Linked DNA regions of Homo sapiens: regions 1, 2, 3, 4 and 5 are each linked to region 6. Evidence: promoter capture Hi-C in 16 types of primary human blood cells and fetal thymus (Javierre and others, 2016). All regions are on one chromosome and are shown on one strand. The core of a region is centred on a gene start or on the middle of the fragment in contact, and the rest is flanking DNA. Distances in the headings are between cores, read along the strand shown. Region 1 overlaps BCL9 (BCL9 transcription coactivator). Region 2 overlaps LINC00624 (long intergenic non-protein coding RNA 624). Region 3 overlaps BCL9 (BCL9 transcription coactivator). Region 4 overlaps LINC00624 (long intergenic non-protein coding RNA 624). Region 5 has its middle 8.0 kb from the start of BCL9. Region 6 holds the start of GJA8 (gap junction protein alpha 8).

The links. The method cuts DNA at HindIII sites, captures the fragments that hold promoters and counts their contacts. A CHiCAGO score of 5 or more calls a contact.
Region 1: a fragment that was not itself captured here is called in contact with the fragment with the promoter of GJA8 in region 6 in 1 of 17 cell types (neutrophils); the score reaches 5.2 in neutrophils.
Region 2: a contact is called between a fragment that was not itself captured here and the fragment with the promoter of GJA8 in region 6, in 6 of 17 cell types (erythroblasts, total CD8 T cells, activated CD4 T cells and 3 more). The highest score is 6.8, in erythroblasts.
Region 3: a fragment that was not itself captured here is called in contact with the fragment with the promoter of GJA8 in region 6 in 4 of 17 cell types (naive B cells, neutrophils, naive CD4 T cells and 1 more); the score reaches 5.8 in naive B cells.
Region 4: a fragment that was not itself captured here is called in contact with the fragment with the promoter of GJA8 in region 6 in 6 of 17 cell types (naive CD8 T cells, M0 macrophages, M2 macrophages and 3 more); the score reaches 6.2 in naive CD8 T cells.
Region 5: a contact is called between a fragment that was not itself captured here and the fragment with the promoter of GJA8 in region 6, in 1 of 17 cell types (total CD8 T cells). The highest score is 5.3, in total CD8 T cells.

Annotation. Positions count from the first base shown.
Region 1 is chr1:147,551,131-147,553,830 of GRCh38, forward strand. The region is part of intron 1 of BCL9 (BCL9 transcription coactivator); the gene reads left to right. Among named protein-coding and RNA genes, the nearest start is that of BCL9, 11 kb to the left of the region's middle. The HindIII fragment of the contact is 6,253 bases long and covers 1-2,700 here.
Region 2 is chr1:147,452,860-147,455,641 of GRCh38, forward strand. The region is part of intron 3 of LINC00624 (long intergenic non-protein coding RNA 624); the gene reads right to left. Among named protein-coding and RNA genes, the nearest start is that of LINC00624, 64 kb to the right of the region's middle. The HindIII fragment of the contact is 937 bases long and covers 1,023-1,959 here.
Region 3 is chr1:147,574,076-147,576,952 of GRCh38, forward strand. All of the region lies in intron 1 of BCL9 (BCL9 transcription coactivator), which reads left to right. Among named protein-coding and RNA genes, the nearest start is that of BCL9, 34 kb to the left of the region's middle. The HindIII fragment of the contact is 1,910 bases long and covers 523-2,432 here.
Region 4 is chr1:147,473,456-147,476,332 of GRCh38, forward strand. All of the region lies in intron 3 of LINC00624 (long intergenic non-protein coding RNA 624), which reads right to left. Among named protein-coding and RNA genes, the nearest start is that of LINC00624, 43 kb to the right of the region's middle. The HindIII fragment of the contact is 1,139 bases long and covers 690-1,828 here.
Region 5 is chr1:147,532,066-147,534,922 of GRCh38, forward strand. No RefSeq gene overlaps it. Among named protein-coding and RNA genes, the nearest start is that of BCL9, 8.0 kb to the right of the region's middle. The HindIII fragment of the contact is 704 bases long and covers 982-1,685 here.
Region 6 is chr1:147,901,355-147,904,127 of GRCh38, forward strand. It overlaps GJA8 (gap junction protein alpha 8), which reads left to right and starts at 1,441. Exons shown (of 2, transcript NM_005267.5): 1 at 1,441-1,507. The HindIII fragment of the contact is 6,753 bases long and covers 1,183-2,773 here.

The DNA.
Region 1 (2,700 bases), core at 59-2,558, 350 kb before region 6:
AAACTCTTCCAGGCATTGTCTCATTCAAACTGCGATAGGTGCTATTAATACCTTCATCTCATAGTTGAGGACACTGCGGTCTAGAGAGTATAACTTGCCCAACATCATCCAATTAGTAAGTGACAACTAGAGTGTAAGTCTATCTAAAGCTGGGTCAGTCTGACCGCAAAGGATTTCCAAAGTCATATAATTGCTAAGTGACTGAGTCAAGGCTCAGGTCTTGTTAAGGGCAGTACTTCTTCAGTGCACAGCCAAAGGTACATGCTGATTGAATGAAGGATAGTGGCAGGCACACACCTATTAGGGTCTCTGACTCTGAGTGCCATGGTTAGTCAAGGATAAGTTTTGGATAGGGTACTGTTACGGTTCAGCTGTTCCCTCCATAACTTATGTTCAAATTTAATTGCCATTATGACAGTATTAACAGGTAAGACCTTTAAGAGGCGGAGAGGTCATAAGGGCTTCATCCTCATGAATGGATTAGCACTGTTATCTTGGGAGTGGGTTAGTTATCAAGGGAGTGGGCTCCCGATAAAAGGATGAATTTGGCCCCCATTTTCCCTCTGCCATGCCCACATGTTCACTCACCATGTGATGCCTTCTGCTATGGAGTGACCCTCACAAGATGTGGCCCCTTAATCTTGGACTTTCCAGACTCTAGCAAATAAATTTCTTTTCTTTATAAATGACGCAGTCTGTGGTATCCTGTTACAGCAGCAGAAAATGGACTAAGGTATAGACTTTTAAAAGTTTTAATAATTTAAATATGTCAAAATAAGGTCTCTGAGACCTGAGGAAGTGATTTAACAAATATGATAAATATCTGTTGTATGTCAGGCAATGAAAATTAGCTTGGCATTGTGGGGTGCAAGATGACTGAGGCTTGAATCCCTACCTTTAAGGTGCTTTCATCCTGGTGGAGAGAGACAGATATTCACAGAACTAATTATAAAGCATATACCAATGGATCAAAAGAACTGTGGTAGTCACGGGAGAGAACAATTAATTTGGTGGTGAAGGGAATAATGGTGGAAGGAATTGGGGAACACTTCATGAAGGAGATGACATTTGCAATGGTCCTTGAGGGATGAATGTGGAAGTACTAGACGTCTTCTATAGTTTAGTTTTTCTTCACACCAGTGGTTTTATAAAGGGTGATATAAAGTAGCATTGTAATGACTGAATAATAGATTGAGGCCAGGTGCAGTGGCTCACACCTGTAATCTTAGCACTTTGGGAGGCCAAGGCGGGTGGAACAACTGAGGTCAGGAGTTCGAGACCACCCTGACCAACATGGAAACCCTGTCTCTACTAAAAAATACAAAATTAGCCAGGCGTGGTGGCGCATGCCTGTAATCCCAGCTACTCGGGAGACTGAGGCAGGAGAATCACTTGAACCCAGGAGGCAGAGGTTGCAGTGAGCTGAGATCGCACCATTGCACTCCAGCCTGGGCAAAAAGAGTGAAACTCTGTCTCAAAAAATAAAACAAACAAACAAACGAAAAGATTAACAGATAATAATGCTTTTAAAGATTAGTTTCCTTGAGTGAAAGCAGAGAAATATCCACTCTTACTAACCATAAGACTATATTGGCATTTTCCTAGTCTGTACTTACCCAGAGTTCTGTTGAAGGAATCACACAATGAAATACCCTGTTCTACGCTTTCTAGGTTTGGGTTCTAGAGTTGAACAGCAATCTAACAAGGGCCTATAAATCCCTGGTGTGACCATATGGGACACTAGTGTGAGTTCTTGTGCAGTACAAAGGAGTACTAAGGTACTGACAGATGGGTCATTTATTCATCTACTCTTTGAGATTTTAGTCTGCAGTTGGGAATTTCCAATTTTTTTTTTTTTACATACAATACCAGGCTTTCTGGATTTGGTGGTTTTTTTGGAGACAGTCCTAATTTAAAACATTCTGCCTTGTCTCCATAAGTATATTCATGATTAGTAGTCAGTATATTCTGGTGGTTGTTTCAGGTTGTTCAGTTATATTGAGTTTCTACATCCGAATCCTGTTTAAAGAGGGCCTAGTAGACATCTTCTGCATTATGGACTTTGTTCACTTGCTGTGACAAAGTGCATACTGACTGGTCTTTACACTGTAAGGTAGAACCTCAGCTAAGCTCTCTTATTCTGTTTTGGTTTGGTTCTTTACTTAGCTTCTCTTTTCCCAAACTCTGCAGATGGACATTAGACTCATTCTTATTTCAAGGACTGGCTCAAATGTCACATTCTGCACGGTCTTTTTCAATTCCTAGAGCCAGAGGACTCTTGCATCCATGCTATATTCTACTTTGCTTAGAATGATCATATTAGCTATATGTGTTCACTATCACAAATCCCTTAATAGAGAGTAAACCAGAGGGTAAGGATTTAGGTCCTGTTCACCTCTGCATCTCCAAGAGCATCCAGCAGAGTTCCTCTCCTTACAAGTGGTTGTGCTCAGAGATGTTTATTGAACTCAACTGAATTGAATTCTTGGCTTCATTGGATTTGCTTTGAGTATGGTAACATTGATGTCTGTGCCCTAGTTCCCTTTTGGAAAAGAAATGCTGCCTTAAAAATAAAAAGCATCTTAACTGATTTTGGGATGAAAGACACCATGTAATATAAGCAGTAATTGTAATTATTATTAATAAGCATCATTAAAATAGTATGAACTGATAGGATTACTTCCTTTGCTTGCTTTTGCC
Region 2 (2,782 bases), core at 241-2,740, 450 kb before region 6:
AATTATTAAGACAAGACTTAACCTACTAATTTTAGAGGTAAACGTAGCTCTGTCAGGTGGAAAGAGCTTACACTTGTCGCTCAAGTGTGGTCCCTGGGTCAGCAGCATTGGTGTTGCCTGGGAACTTACTGGAACTGCAGGTTATTTACATGCACGTTCAAGTTTGGGAACACACTGGCCTGCACAATGACCTCTGAATATGCCATCTGGTTCTAGGCACTCATATTATGGGAGAGCTTACAAATAGAAATCTAGGCCAGGTGAAAATAATTCATATATTCATGGCAATAAATTAACTTCACCACAAGCACCTGAAATAATTTGGTTTTCTTTTAGAGAAATTGTCCTACATACTGGTATTCTGAGTGTGTGTGTGAGAGCATGCATGCACGTGTGCGTGTGTGTGGTTTAAGTAGATCAGCAATTTACTGGGCAACATGAACATTTGATTTAAAAATTTTAATCATTGCTTTGTGTTATTGAAATTAAATATAAGTAGATGTTTCCCTGATGTGCTGTAAGGACTTTCAAAAGCACATCAGTTACTCTAGTTTATGCCCATTTTGTTTCTTTTGAGGAAACAAACCCCTTAAGGTTAGTCAACAAAACATTTCATTTATTGCCAAAGCAAAAAAAAAAAAAATTCCTCTTTTAAGACCCCCATGCTTATTTTCCAGAGTTTATACTTACATTTTAAAATTATTTATGCTTAACTTCAGTACCAACTTTCTATTGAAATTTAAATACTTTAAGCTCCTGAAGCCCCTGAGATTTGGAATTTTTAATGAAAGCTGTACTGGCATATTAATCACATGCCTTGAATTCTCAGAATCAAAGATAAGAATGCATTGGCTTTCCAGACTATAGAGCAGTTTGCAAATATAAGATATTATCAGGTATCACTATTAATAATTATTATATGACTTAAACCCTCTGTGCTTCAGTTTATTTATCTCCAAAATGGGTGTGGTAGGTTGTCTTATAGGTTATTATGTGAATCAAATAAGTTAATACATGTAAAAAGCTTAGATGTAATACATGTAAAAAGTTAGCACATAATATAAATTTAACTAGTGCTGGCTATCATTATCTAACGTTTGTTTCTATCCATTACCCAGTTTGAAAAATACTGTTTGAATTCAAGTATGTAAAAATGTTGCATCTTTTCAAAGCAACTCATTGGGTTTTGATTGGATGCATTATACTAAAATCAATTTAATCATTAAAGAAAAACATACTTTGAAACTATTAAGCAAGATTTTTTTTTTTCTGAGATGGAGCCTTACCCTGTTGCCCAGGCTGGAGTGCAGTGGTGTGATCTCGGCTCATTGCAACCTCCGCCCGCCAGGTTCAAGCAATTCTTCTGCCTCAGTCTCCTGAGTAGCTAGGATTACAGGCGTGTGCCACCACGCCCAGCCAATTTTTGTATTTTTAGTAGAGACAGGATTTCACCATGTTGTCCAGGCTGGTCTCCAACTCCTGACCTCGTGATCTGCCCTCCTCGGCCTCCCAAAGTGCTGGGATTACAGGCGTGAGCCACCACGCCCGGCCTAAGCAAGATTCTTTTAAAGCCAATTTTTTGGTACAGAATCAGTCTAAGAAAAATCACCCTCAAATTATTTTTTTCTATGAAATCTATCTATCTCCATGTGATCATGGAGAATAAAGTCATTATTGTACAGGAGAGGGTTTACAATGAGGCTACCTATTCCTAGGAATACGAATTTAAATTCTAAGGGACAAGTGTATATTATATTACAGAAAGTGTCATGCATAGGTGGTGATTGCTAATAATAAATTTTAATGACGATGGTGGTGATTGTCTCAGTCCTTTTTGCATTGCTCTAAAGGAACACCTGATGCTGGGTAGTTCATAAATAAAAGAGTTTTTTTTGGCTTACAGTTCTGCAGGCTGTACAAGAAGCATGGCACCAGCATCTTCTGGTGAGGGTCTCAGGAAGCTTCCAATCATGACAGAAAGGGAAGTGGAGCTGGCATGTAAAGTGGCGAGAGAGAAAGAACGAGAGAGAGGAGGAGATGCCAGGCTTTTTGACAATCAGTCATGACGTGAACTAATAGAATGAGAACTCACTCATTACTGCAAGGATGGCACCAAGCTGTTCATGACAGATTTGCCCCCATGAGCCAAACCTCCCACTAGGCCCCGCTTATAACATCTGGGATCAAATTTCAACATGAAATCTGGAGGGTGAAATATCCAAACTATATCAGGGATGATGAGTAATAAGAAAAAATAAGGCTGGGCACAGTGGCTCACCCTGTAATCCCAACACTTTGGGAGGCTGAGGTTGGCAGACCACTTGAACCCAGGAGTTTGTGATCGGCCTGGGAAACATGTCCAAATCCCGTCTCTGCAAAAAATACAAAAAATTAGCCAGGTGTGGTGGTGCATGCCTGTGGTCCCAGCCACTCAGGAGGCTGAAGTGGGAGGACTGACAGCCTGGGAGGTTGAAGCTGCAGAGAGCCAAGATTGCACCACTGCACTCTAGCCCAGGCAACAGAGCCAACAGAGCAAAACCCTGTCTGGGAAAAAAAAAAAAAGAAAGAAAGAATAAGAAAAAATAGATTCACATTACTACTTATCCCATCTTATCCCCCTGGCCCACAAGAAATTAGATTAGCCAGTCAAACTAAGGAAAAAAAGTTATAGGTAGACATATATAGAGAGATTTTTTTTAATGCCCCATGAATATGTTCCTCAGGAACTGACTTCAACTAATATGAAGTCACATTTCAAGGCGCTTATAATAAGTAGTGTGTG
Region 3 (2,877 bases), core at 228-2,727, 330 kb before region 6:
TTATTATCCCTACTCTAGAGACAGAAAACTGAGGCTTAGGCAGACTAGTTTACATAAACCTAGGCTTGTCTGACCCTCAAACCCATCACTCTATCCTGTGATGACTGTGGTAAGAATATTGAGGTCTTATAAATATAACTGCAAGGCAAAAGGCACTCTGGACAAGGCTGTGTGGGGGTCAGCTTTTGCCACTGTGTCCACTCTCAGTGGCAGCCCCTTCCTGACACCGCAGTTGTCATTTGTGGAAGAACGTAGTGCAATGTGAGTGGACAATGTTTTTACAGTATTTGTTTCACCGTATAGGAGAATCTGTGTAGACAAATGAAGAACCTACTGCCATTTAGGACCAGAATTCCAGAGGAACCAACCATCTGTGCACCTCCATGTCAGGGGAAGGTGTTTTATTTCCAGTGTGAAATGCCAAATAGTCCAGGAATGATAAAATCACCCTAGTTTTTCTTATGAACTCCTAGAAGTCATCTTTGTTGGTATAAATGAGATCATTTAGCCTAATTAGTTCCAAGCTTAATTAGCAGTAATTATCCCAACATGGGAGTAATATCCGAGCAGGAAGTGCCGAGTCCTCGATTAGATAGATCTCTAATTGGTGTTACAATATTGTAATTAAAGCGTGTTTGTACGCCTCTGCCACAGCACGCGATTTGTTTCATGTCTGATTAAACAGAGAGACCCAGCAGCCTTTGAAGGGGCCAAAATTTTAGATCTGACTCACATAACATGTTAACCCTGTGACAAAAAAGATATGGGGACCTACCTCAGTGGCCAAGGTGAGTGTACAGCTCTGAGCCAAAGGCATTTTTCCAGAGAGGATGAGCCCTTGGTCTACTCCACACTTTGACTCCCATGTAGCAAGTATAGGAAAACAGAAGTATATGGTTGAGGGGCCACTTTGTAACTTTTAAACCTTTGAGGGCTGACTCATATATAACCAGAGAAGACTGTACAAAAAAGACGAATAATAATAGCTACTGTTTATTGAGCATTTACTATGTGCTGGATGCTGTGCTAAATGCTTTCAATATCAAATTCATTAAAACTTCAAAAAGCCCTCTGAGGCAGCTATTACAGTCCCTGTTTTACAAATAAGGACCTGAAGATGAGGGAGTTGCTTCACCCAACTAAGTCTGTGTTACCCTTCAGGTCTTGCCTTGAGCATCACTCCTCTAGAAAGCTACTTCTGATCCCTAGACCATGTTGGTTTCCTGACACAGCTCCTTGTAATTTTCCTTCATACACTTTAATATAATTTCATTGTCTGCCTTTCCCACCAAACCATAAGCTCATTTTTGCCTTGTTCACTGCTTTTGCCCAGTGCCCAACACCAAGCTAAGTGCCAGCAATGTAGCAGGTGTTCGAGGAGTAAGAGCCAAATGAATTGTCAGAAGTTACCCAACTGACAGGTTGGATGATTTGAACCCAACTCTGTGTGATTCTGTAGTCCTGTGTTTTCCATTACATCATGCTTCCTTTTTTTTAATGTTAAAAACTCCAAAGTTTCTAGGTAGCAAAACTATAATAAACATGTATTTTGAGGAAGGATAGGGGAATAGAGATTTTCTTTCCTCTCATTTCAAAGTGCTGTTTAAAAATTTTGCAATACATGCCTTAACCATTCACTATATTTATCTACTTAATGCTTCAGCCTGATGTTATAATTTAGATTTTTGTGTGCATATTCAAATAATTGGTCATTGAATTTAATAAGCCCAAGAGAATTAGAGTAAACTAATGTGATGTATAAATGCAGGTAGAACTTATATGCATTTATACATCACTGGATTCTGCAATCTTTAAAAATGTACCTAACACTTTCAGAATCTGTATTTCAGTGATTCCCAGCTGTGGTTTTGGCACACCCTAAGAATCTCCAGTTATTTTGAATGATGACATAAAATTCTCAGTTTTTTTTTCAAATTAACTTTTTTGGATATTTAAAAGAAAACATGCCACATGATGCATTGCGGGGGAATAAGAAACAGGCTAGATCAGAATGGAGCCAATGCCTTTGACCCTTGGGAAATCATTGCTATTTAATCTTGGTCACTGCTGAAATATATTCAGGGATTAAGAACCTTAACAAGAATTTTTGTTTATTCTTTAAAAAAGTTTTAACATAATTATTAAAAATTAGTAGATGATACTTGCACAAAGTATAAAATTCACAAAAATGTCTAAGTGAAAAGGCCCCTTCCACCTTTCTCTCATCTCCCGGCCACTCTAGAGATAATCAGTTTTGCATATCTTTCTGGAATATTCTATGCATACGCAAATATATCATTTTAAAGGTATTATTTCTTGGTAAAACACCGGAGTGCACACTGACTCATAAAGGTCAATTCGTTCACTTTTCAGTTTAAGCAAAGATAAAAAGTTATAATGAGAAATTCACTACATAGAAACCAAAGGCACAAAGCTTTGAAGTCTATTTTCTTGTAAAACTATTACTAAACATTGTGGTGATATACTGTAATGAAATATGGTACTAATGAAGGAGAAATGCTGCTTGACTTATGACAATAATGGTATCCAGTGTGGGTCCTGAATCTTCCTGAGTTTTCTGTTCTGATTAACTCCTAGATGATGTTTCTGTGTGGCGATTTATCTCAATACCAGCAATAAAGAAGCCAAGCTGATAGGTTCCAGTCACTGTAGGGAACTTATGTGAGGAAACTTACTGCTGGTCTCTTGTCACTTTCTCACCCGCCTCCTCTGGTGACCTTAAGTTGCCTACAGTGTGCAAAATAATGTAAAGACGATACCTTTTATATCAACAGACATTTCTCTTTTGACTGTAATAGGTTTGCAGAATCTATCCGTTATCGTCAAAAGAGAAATGCCTGTTGATATAAAAGGTAC
Region 4 (2,877 bases), core at 9-2,508, 430 kb before region 6:
AGGCCTCCTTATTTCCTAAGACACACCAATATTGAAATTAGGCCAATAATAACTCTCCAATGGCCTCTAAGTGTTCAAGTAAAAGGAAGTGTCACATGTCTCTCATCTTAAATCAAAAGCTAGAAATGATTAAGCTAAGTAACTAGTAAATGATTAAGCATGTCAAAAGCTGAGATAAGCCAAAATCTATGCCTCTTGCACCAAATAGTTAGCCAGGTAGTGAATGCAAAGGAAAAGTTCTCAAAGGAAACTAAAAGCACTACTCCAGTGAACATGTGAATAAGAAGAAAATGTCATAACCTCATTGTTAATATGGAGAAAGTTTTAGTGGTCTGGGTGGAAGATCAAACCAGCCACAACATTCCCTTAAGCCAAAGCCTAACCCAGAGGAAGGCCCTTACTCCCTTCAGTTCTATGAAGGCTAAGAGAGGTGAGAAAGCTGCAAAAGAAAAGTTTGAAGCTATCAGAGTTTGGTGTTTATAACATAAAAGTACAAAGTGAAGCAGCCAGTGCTGATGTGGAAGCTGCAGCAAGTTGTCAAGATTTAGCTAAGATAATTGAGGAAGGTGGCTACACTAAACAACAAATTTTCAATGTAGATGAAACAACCTTCACCCACATTGATGAAGATGGAAGAACATGTCATCTAGGACTTTCATAGCTAGAGAGAAGTCAATGCCTGGCTTCAAAGCTTCAAAGGCCGTGCTGATAGTCTACTGCAGCTGGTAACTTTAAGCTGAAGCCAATGCTCATTTACCATTCTGCAAATCCTAGGGCTCTTAAGAATTATGCTAAACCTGGCCAGGTGCAGTGGCTCAAGCCTGTAATCCTAGCACTTTGGGAGGCCAAGGCGGGAGGATCACGAGGTTAGAAGATCGAGACCATCCTGGCTAATGCGGTGAAACCCCGTCTCTACTAAAAATACAAAAAAATTAGCTGGGCGTGGTGGCGGGCGCCTGTAGTCCCAGCTACTCAGGAAGCTGAGGTAGGAGAATGGCGTGAACCCAGGAGGCGGAGCTTGCAGTGAGCTGAGATCGCACCACTGCACTCCAGCCTGGGTGACAGAGCAAGACTCCATTTCAAAAAAAAAAAGAATTATGCTAAACCTGCCCTGCCTGTGCCCTGTAAATACAACAATAAAGCCTGGATAATGGCACATTTGTTGACGGTGTGATTTACTGAACATTTTAAGCCCACCGTTGAGACTTACTGCTTAAAAAAAAATCTATTCCAAAATATTACTCATTGACAATTCACATGGCCATCCAAGAGCCTGATAGAGATATATAATGAGATCAGTGTTGTTGTCATGCCTGCTAACACGACCACCATTTTACAGCCCATGTACCAGGGAGTAATTTTGCCTTCAAGTCTTATTATTTAAGAAATACAGTTTGTAAAGCTCTAGTTGCCGTAGATAGTGACTCCTCTGATGGATCTGGGCAAAATAAATTGTAAGTCCTCTGGAAAGGATTCACTATTCTAGACGCTATTAAGAACATTTGTGATTCTTAGGAGGTCAAAAATGTCAAAGTGAACAGGATTTTGGAAGAAGTTAATTCTAACTCTCATGGATGACTTTGGAGGGTTCAAGACTTTGATGGAGGAAGTAACTGCGAATATGGTGGATGTAGCAAGAGAACTAGAATTAGGAGTAGAAACTGAAGATGTAACCAAATTGCTTCAATGTCATGATAAAATTTGAATGGACAAAAAGTTGGTTCTTACGGATAAGCAAAGAAAGCAGTTTCTTGAGATGGAATCTACTCCTGGTGAGGATACTATGAACATTGTTTAACTGTAATCAAAGGACTTAGAATGTTACATAAGCTTAGTTAATAAAGCAGCAATAGGGTTTCAGAGGATTGACTCCAATTTTGAAAGGCCTTCTCCTGTGGGTAAAATGCTATCAAATGGCATCATATGCTACAGAAAAATCTTTTGTGAAAGGAAGAATCCATCAATGTAGCAAACTTTATTGGTCTCTTATGTTACCAAATTGCCACAGCCACCTTAACCTTTAGCAACCACCACCCTGATCAATCAGTAGCCAACACCGAGGCAAGACTCTTCACTAGCAAAAATATTAAGACTTGCTGAAGGCTCAGAAGATTAGTATTTTTAGCAATAAATTAAGGTATGTACATTGTTTTTATACATAATGCTACTGCACACTTAACAGACCACAGTATAGTGTAAACATAACTTTCATATGCACTGGAAAACCAAAAAATTCGTATGACTCATTTTATTGAAATATTTGCTTTGTTGCAGTGGTCTGAAACCAAACCTGCAACGCTGTTGAGGTATGCCTGTATTTCTTTGGACCTTCTAGGCTTATTATATTTCTACCATTTAAATTTAGCTTTAGGAATTGTTGCATTTTAACTTCAGTATCAAGTTTCTATTGAATAATAAATACTTCAAAAGATCCTGGAGACTCTGAGATTTGGAATTTTTAATAAAAGCTACGTTTGCCTATTAATCATGTGTCTTGAATGCTTGGAATAAAGAATAAGTAGCGTGCATTATTTTTCATGTGCTTTAAATATTTCAAAGTATTTTTAAAACATATCATTTCATAAGTATATAATATGGCATATTATCTAATAATTCATAACATTATTATAGCCACTTAACCCCTCTACGCCTTGAATTTCTCATCTACAAAATGAGAATAACGGTATGACCTCAGTGTTGTAAGGATTAAATAGCTAATACACGTAAACCAATTTCAACAAATTCTGGCATCTAGTAAGTTTTCAATATGTTATTATTATAATACTGCCTAATATGTATCCATACACAACACGATTTGGAACATCCTAGTTAAGTTCAGGCATGTGAAAAATGCATGTTTTCAAATTAATAGCCTAG
Region 5 (2,857 bases), core at 84-2,583, 370 kb before region 6:
GGCGTGAGCCACTGAGCCCAGCCAGGTCAGCAACCTTTTTTATGTGAAGGACCAGACAAAAACAGTTTAAGCTTTGCAGACCATACGGTCTCCGTTGCAGCTACTTAATGCTGTGGTTGTAGTGCAAAAGCAACCATAGACAATATGTGAATAAATGAGAGTGGCCATGTTCCAATAAAACTTTTTTTTTTGAGACAAGGTCTTACTCTGTTGTCAAGTACAGTCGTGCCATCATAGCTCCCTGTAACCTGGAACTCCTGGGCTCAAACCATCCTCTTGCCTCAGCCTCCTGAGTAGCTGGGACTACAGGCATGCACCACCATGCCTGGCTAATTTTTAATTTTTTTGTAGAAATGAGGTCTTACTATGTTGCCCAGGCTGGTCTTGAACTCCTAGCTTCAAGTGATCCTCCCACCTCTGCCTACCAAAACGTTGGGATTACAGGTGTCAGCCACCATGCCCAACCCCAATACAACTTTATGGAGATTGATATTTGAATTTCCTATAATTTTCAGGTGCCATGAAATATTCTTTTAATTTTTTTCCAACCACTATTTAAAAATGTAATAACCATTCTGAGCTTGCTGTACTGTGTAAAAACAGGTGGCTGGCTGGATTTGGCCTGTAGGTCACAGGGAGCAAACTAGCTTGCCATTCTGGAGCCAGGTTGAAGATTAGAGGGGCAATGAAGCGTAGAAGTAACATCTTAATATAACCTCCGTCCCTTTTCAGTGAGAAGCGCCTTTTCCTCTTCTTGAGATGCACGATCCCACCACACCTGTTAAAATCCCCCTGAAGAATTAAAAGTTGCTGCCTCCTCAGAGTCCTCTCAGCACTTCTTTATAGTATATACTAAACACTGGGTGTCCCCCATACCAAAATTCCTATGAAGCCTCAAACTCCTTGCGTGTTCAATTTACTGCTGTTCATCCAGAACTAGCACAGTGCTTGGCAACTGAGAAGGGTTGGGTTGAACCACAAAGCTTCACTTTCACTCTATTGGTGCAAGCAAAAGGAATCCATTAGAACCAGTCTAGGGGGAGGGAGAAAGGGGAATCATTTAGAACTAGGAACATCTTAGTGTGCCTAAATTCAGGAAACCTCCACCAGGGCTTCGGGCTTCATTCTGTCTCTCTCTCTCTCTCTCTCTCTCTCTCTCTCTCTCTCTCTCTCTCTCTCTCTCTGGCTTGGGCCACATGGATTCTTATCTCTTTGTCTCTGAGTGGGTCTATTTCTTTTTTTTTTTCCTCATCAGTTTTATCAGTTCAAGAACTAATAGAGATCAACTAGCTTCCGTGAACCCTACTTTTAAATATCTGGGAGAAGGCCAGGCACCGTGACTCATGCCTGTAATCCCAGCACTTAGGGAGGCCGAGGTGGGTAGATCTCCTGAGGTTAGGAGTTCGATACCAGCCTGGTCAACATGGTGAAAGCCCGTCTCTTCTAAAAATTCAAAAATTAACCAGGCATGGTGATGTGTGCCTGTAATCTCAACTACTCAGGGGCCGAGGCAGGAGAATCGCTTGAACCCGGAGGCGGAGGTTACAGTGAGCTGAGATCGCACCACTGTACTCCAGCCTGAGAGACAGAGCTAGACTCTGTCTCAAAATAAATAAATAAATTTATGGGAGAGAGAATCTGATTGGCCAGGGAAACTGGTCATACAGTATAAATATAAGTGCAGAAGCTTAACTGAACAGGTAGTCTAGGGATTATTTTCCAAAAACAGAGGGAATGTGTTGTGCAGGCACTTCAAAATGCCTATAATACTTGCTGGCTTCATTTATTTCATGATGGCTGTGTCATGGTTACTAGTGTACATCTTTCTCTTTTCTACTATCTAGATGAAATGCTCCTTTAGAACAGGGAAAAAGTCTTCCTCATTTTGGTGTCCCCAGACCTAGCACAGTCTTTTGCACGTAATAGGTAATAGCAAACACTTATTGAACTGAATGAAAAACACTACCTTCTATTCAGCCTTTCATGCATCTTTCATCTTTATGAAAGGTACACATTCCATTGCTAGGCAAAAGACATGGTATAAAAGATAAATTTCCTTTTCCTGGCTTCAGTACTGCTTTTTATTAAATTGTCTTTAGCTCAGATAATTGCATTATTTCCATTTTAGGTTTTCAGAGGTCAAACAACCTCAGATCCAGATGTACTATGAATGCAACTATAATAGTTTCAGAGCAATTATCTCCATCTAGCTCTGTAGGGCAGAACAACTCGAACTCTGGAGCCCAGCTGGTGAGAAATCCTTTTATACATAGCCCTCTCAGAATCAGTCCAAACTGAATTCAAGATTAGTTTCAGCAGAGAATCTACTTAGCTGTGGCTAGTGGCCTAGGTAGCTGTTGCCTCTGCAGGCATCTAAGCAGCCCTGAGAACAGCTGAGTGCCCCAGGTCATACCTGAAACTCTCTGCCCATTAACCAAGGCCAGCGTAAGCTCATGTTCAACACCATTGCAGCAGCCAAGGTCAATCAGAAGAAGCAGTCTCTTTCTGGCGAATGAGTCACTGCAAATGGCTGGAGAGTTTCTCTCCATAGTTTATTACATCTCCTCTGATCTGCTCCCCTGGGGGAGAAGTTGGTTCATTGTTTACCAAAATCAGTTGCTCCCACTGGTGTCTCTGCTGCCTCTTTCTGCTCTGATGAGCTGCAAGCTTCAGGCAGAAGCATATTTCAGGGAAGGGGCGTTACAAACACAGCCCATAGCAAATGCAACTTGTTCTAGTTTGTGCCTTCCTTGCTTTGGCTCATATCAATTCATAAGGCCTTTTTCAGAGTGTTCTAAGCTCCTTTCCACATCTTCATTAGAAGGAGTTTAGGACAGGACAAAGTGGCTTTTCTGTC
Region 6 (2,773 bases), core at 191-2,690:
ATTTAACAGATGAAGGCACTAAAGTCTAAAAATGTTAGCTGACATTGATTGAACTTCCGCTACTCAAAAGTATATGTAATTATAAGTGAAACGTGGTGAGAAAGGCTATTACTTTGACAAATGGCACCAGAATTCTTTGGAGTGTTAAGGCTCCTTTCAAAGAGGGAGACCACCCTGCTGAAGGTTTGTTTGTGTTTCTTTTTTATTGTTTTGATCTTTTTAGAAAGCTCTTTCCTTTTATGTTTAGTTGACACATAATAATTGTACGTATTTGTGATACACAGTGATATTTCAATACATGTATACAATGTGTAATGATCAAATCAGGATAATTAGCATATTCAGCATCTCAAACATTTATCATTTCTTTCTGTTGGGAACAATCAAAATCCTCTCCTCTAGCTTTTTGAGACTATACAATAAAATAGTTAACGGCCAGGCATGGTCGCTCATGCTTGTAATCCCAGCATTTGGGGAGGCCAAGGCGGGCAGATCGCCTGAGGTCAGGAGTCTGAGGCCAGCCTGGCCAACATGGTGAAACCCCGTCTCTACTAAAAATAGAAAAAAAAAAATTAGCTGGGCGTGGTTGTGGGTGTCTGTTATCCCAGCTACTCAGGAGGCTGAGGCAGGAGAATAACTTGAACCTGAGAGGCAGAGGTTGCAGTGAGCTAAGATCGTGACATTGCACTCCAGCCTGGGTGGCAGAGCGAGACTCTGTCTCACACACACACAAAAATATAAAAATTAAAATAATTAATTAATTAATGTTAACCATATTCACCCTACAGCACTGCAGACCACCAGAACCCATTCCCCCTATCTAGCTGTGCTTTTGTATCTATTAGCAACATGCTCCCCATCCTTCCTTCCGCCACTACACTTCCCAGCCTCTAATATCCACAATTCTGCTGAAGGCTTTGAGAGACAAGAGCAAACCACCAATAAAAAATGAAATATGGTCCTTTGGAAAGGACCAACCACTCTTGGTGTGACTCAGGGCAGAGGGATTCACACAACTGACCACTTACTGTCCCTACATCATTAAGATTCTCCCAGCTGATGATAAGGCCTTGGGAAAATGCCCCTAGGCTCATGCGCTCTGGAGAGACGCCAAAGGTTTACTGATGTACAGGCCCAGTCTGCTGCTAAAAGAAACTTTGGGAGGCACAGAAGCCCCAGCTAAGCTTTCACACATCAGCTTTCCCCATCCTCCTCCCCTCAGTGCCCAACACAGCTCTCCCATTCTCTCACTCCCATTGTTTCCCAAACATCCCTCCCTTCATAAAAGCTGTCTGGCTGGGAGCTTAAAATATTGCTGGACAGTAAAACCTACCCATCAGGGCCAATCCAGTCATATCTGCTCAGTCGTGCAGCACAGTAGGGGCGGGGTAGAGAAGTGGGAGGTGGGCTTTTAGGCAGCAAAGGAAAGAGACGAAAGTTGCCATTTTGCTGCTGAGCGCCAAGAGAGAAAGAGCACATATTTCTCCGTGGGACACTCCTTGTATTGGCAAGTTTTCCTTGGGTGATATTAGTTTGTAACCTTCCCCCCAATTGTTCTTTCTCAGCCTAATCTAAGGGCCATATATAGGCTTCTCCAAAAGGAAAAAGGTTGCCAATAAGATTCAGTCTTGGGCTGGGATGGCTAGACTTACACTCCAACTCTGAAAACCCTCTTCAAGTTGACCTAAGAACTGGCAGAGGTTTGGAAGGGAGAGGAATGCTGGAATAATCAGCAGGATGGGGAAACAGAGATGTCCAAACTCAAACTACAATTTGACTTCTTAAGCTCTTTTCATGTCTACAGGAATCCACAGGGACCTAAACCAAGTATTTGATATTTATGAAAAAGTTTTGTGCCCTTTTCACTCAAATTCTACAATAGAAATAATAGTCATAATTACTGAATGCTGTGGGGGTAGCGGAGGCTTCGTGCTCAGCATTTTCCATGTTGGAGCATTTAATGGAGCACAGGAAGGGATCTGGCTAAGGACCATAAAATTCCTCCTAGGAGCAGGTTCTGTTGTCTATCTATGAGAACTGCTGGCTAGTGGCTGTTCTAGAAACTAGAAAAGAGGCACTTTCCACCTGGTTACCAACCAGAGTGGTAAGTGGCCATTGAACGCTTTGGATAACTTATTAATGGATGTATATGTGTTATTCTGCCTCTTCAAAACCAGAGGAGGGCTATGCTGTAATGGGCTTAGATCTAGAAGACCAGGGCTCACAGCCTAGCTCTGCCCTCACTAGCTAAGCCCCCATCTTGGAGACTCATTTCACCTCCCAGCCTGTCTTTTTGTCTGGTAATGGGGATTGATAATGCCAAGTTCACTGGTTCTCAGACATCCATCTGGGGATCTGTCAGTTCTAGCTCAAGATGAAGGTTTCCACAACCTGTGACCAAAATGTGACAATGATAAAGTTAACAATGTAGTAAATGTTTCACCAAGTTAAGTGTGTTCAATTTAAAGGCTTGTCTTTTATTCTGAAGTTATGTCCTCTCCAGTTTTGTGGTGTTAAAATCCCCTTTTATGAAATGATGATGAAAATAGACTGTAGTTGTAGTTAGTAATTTAATAACTCTTTTTTTTTTTTTTTGAGACAGAGTCTCGCTGTGTTGCCCAGGCTGGAGTGCAGTGGTGTGATCTCAGCTCACTGCAGCCTCCACCTCCTGGGCTCAAGCAATTCTCCTGCCCCAGCCTCCCAAGTAGCTGGGATTACAGGTGCCCCACCACCGTGCCCAGCTAATTTTTGTATTTTTAGTAGAGATAGGGTT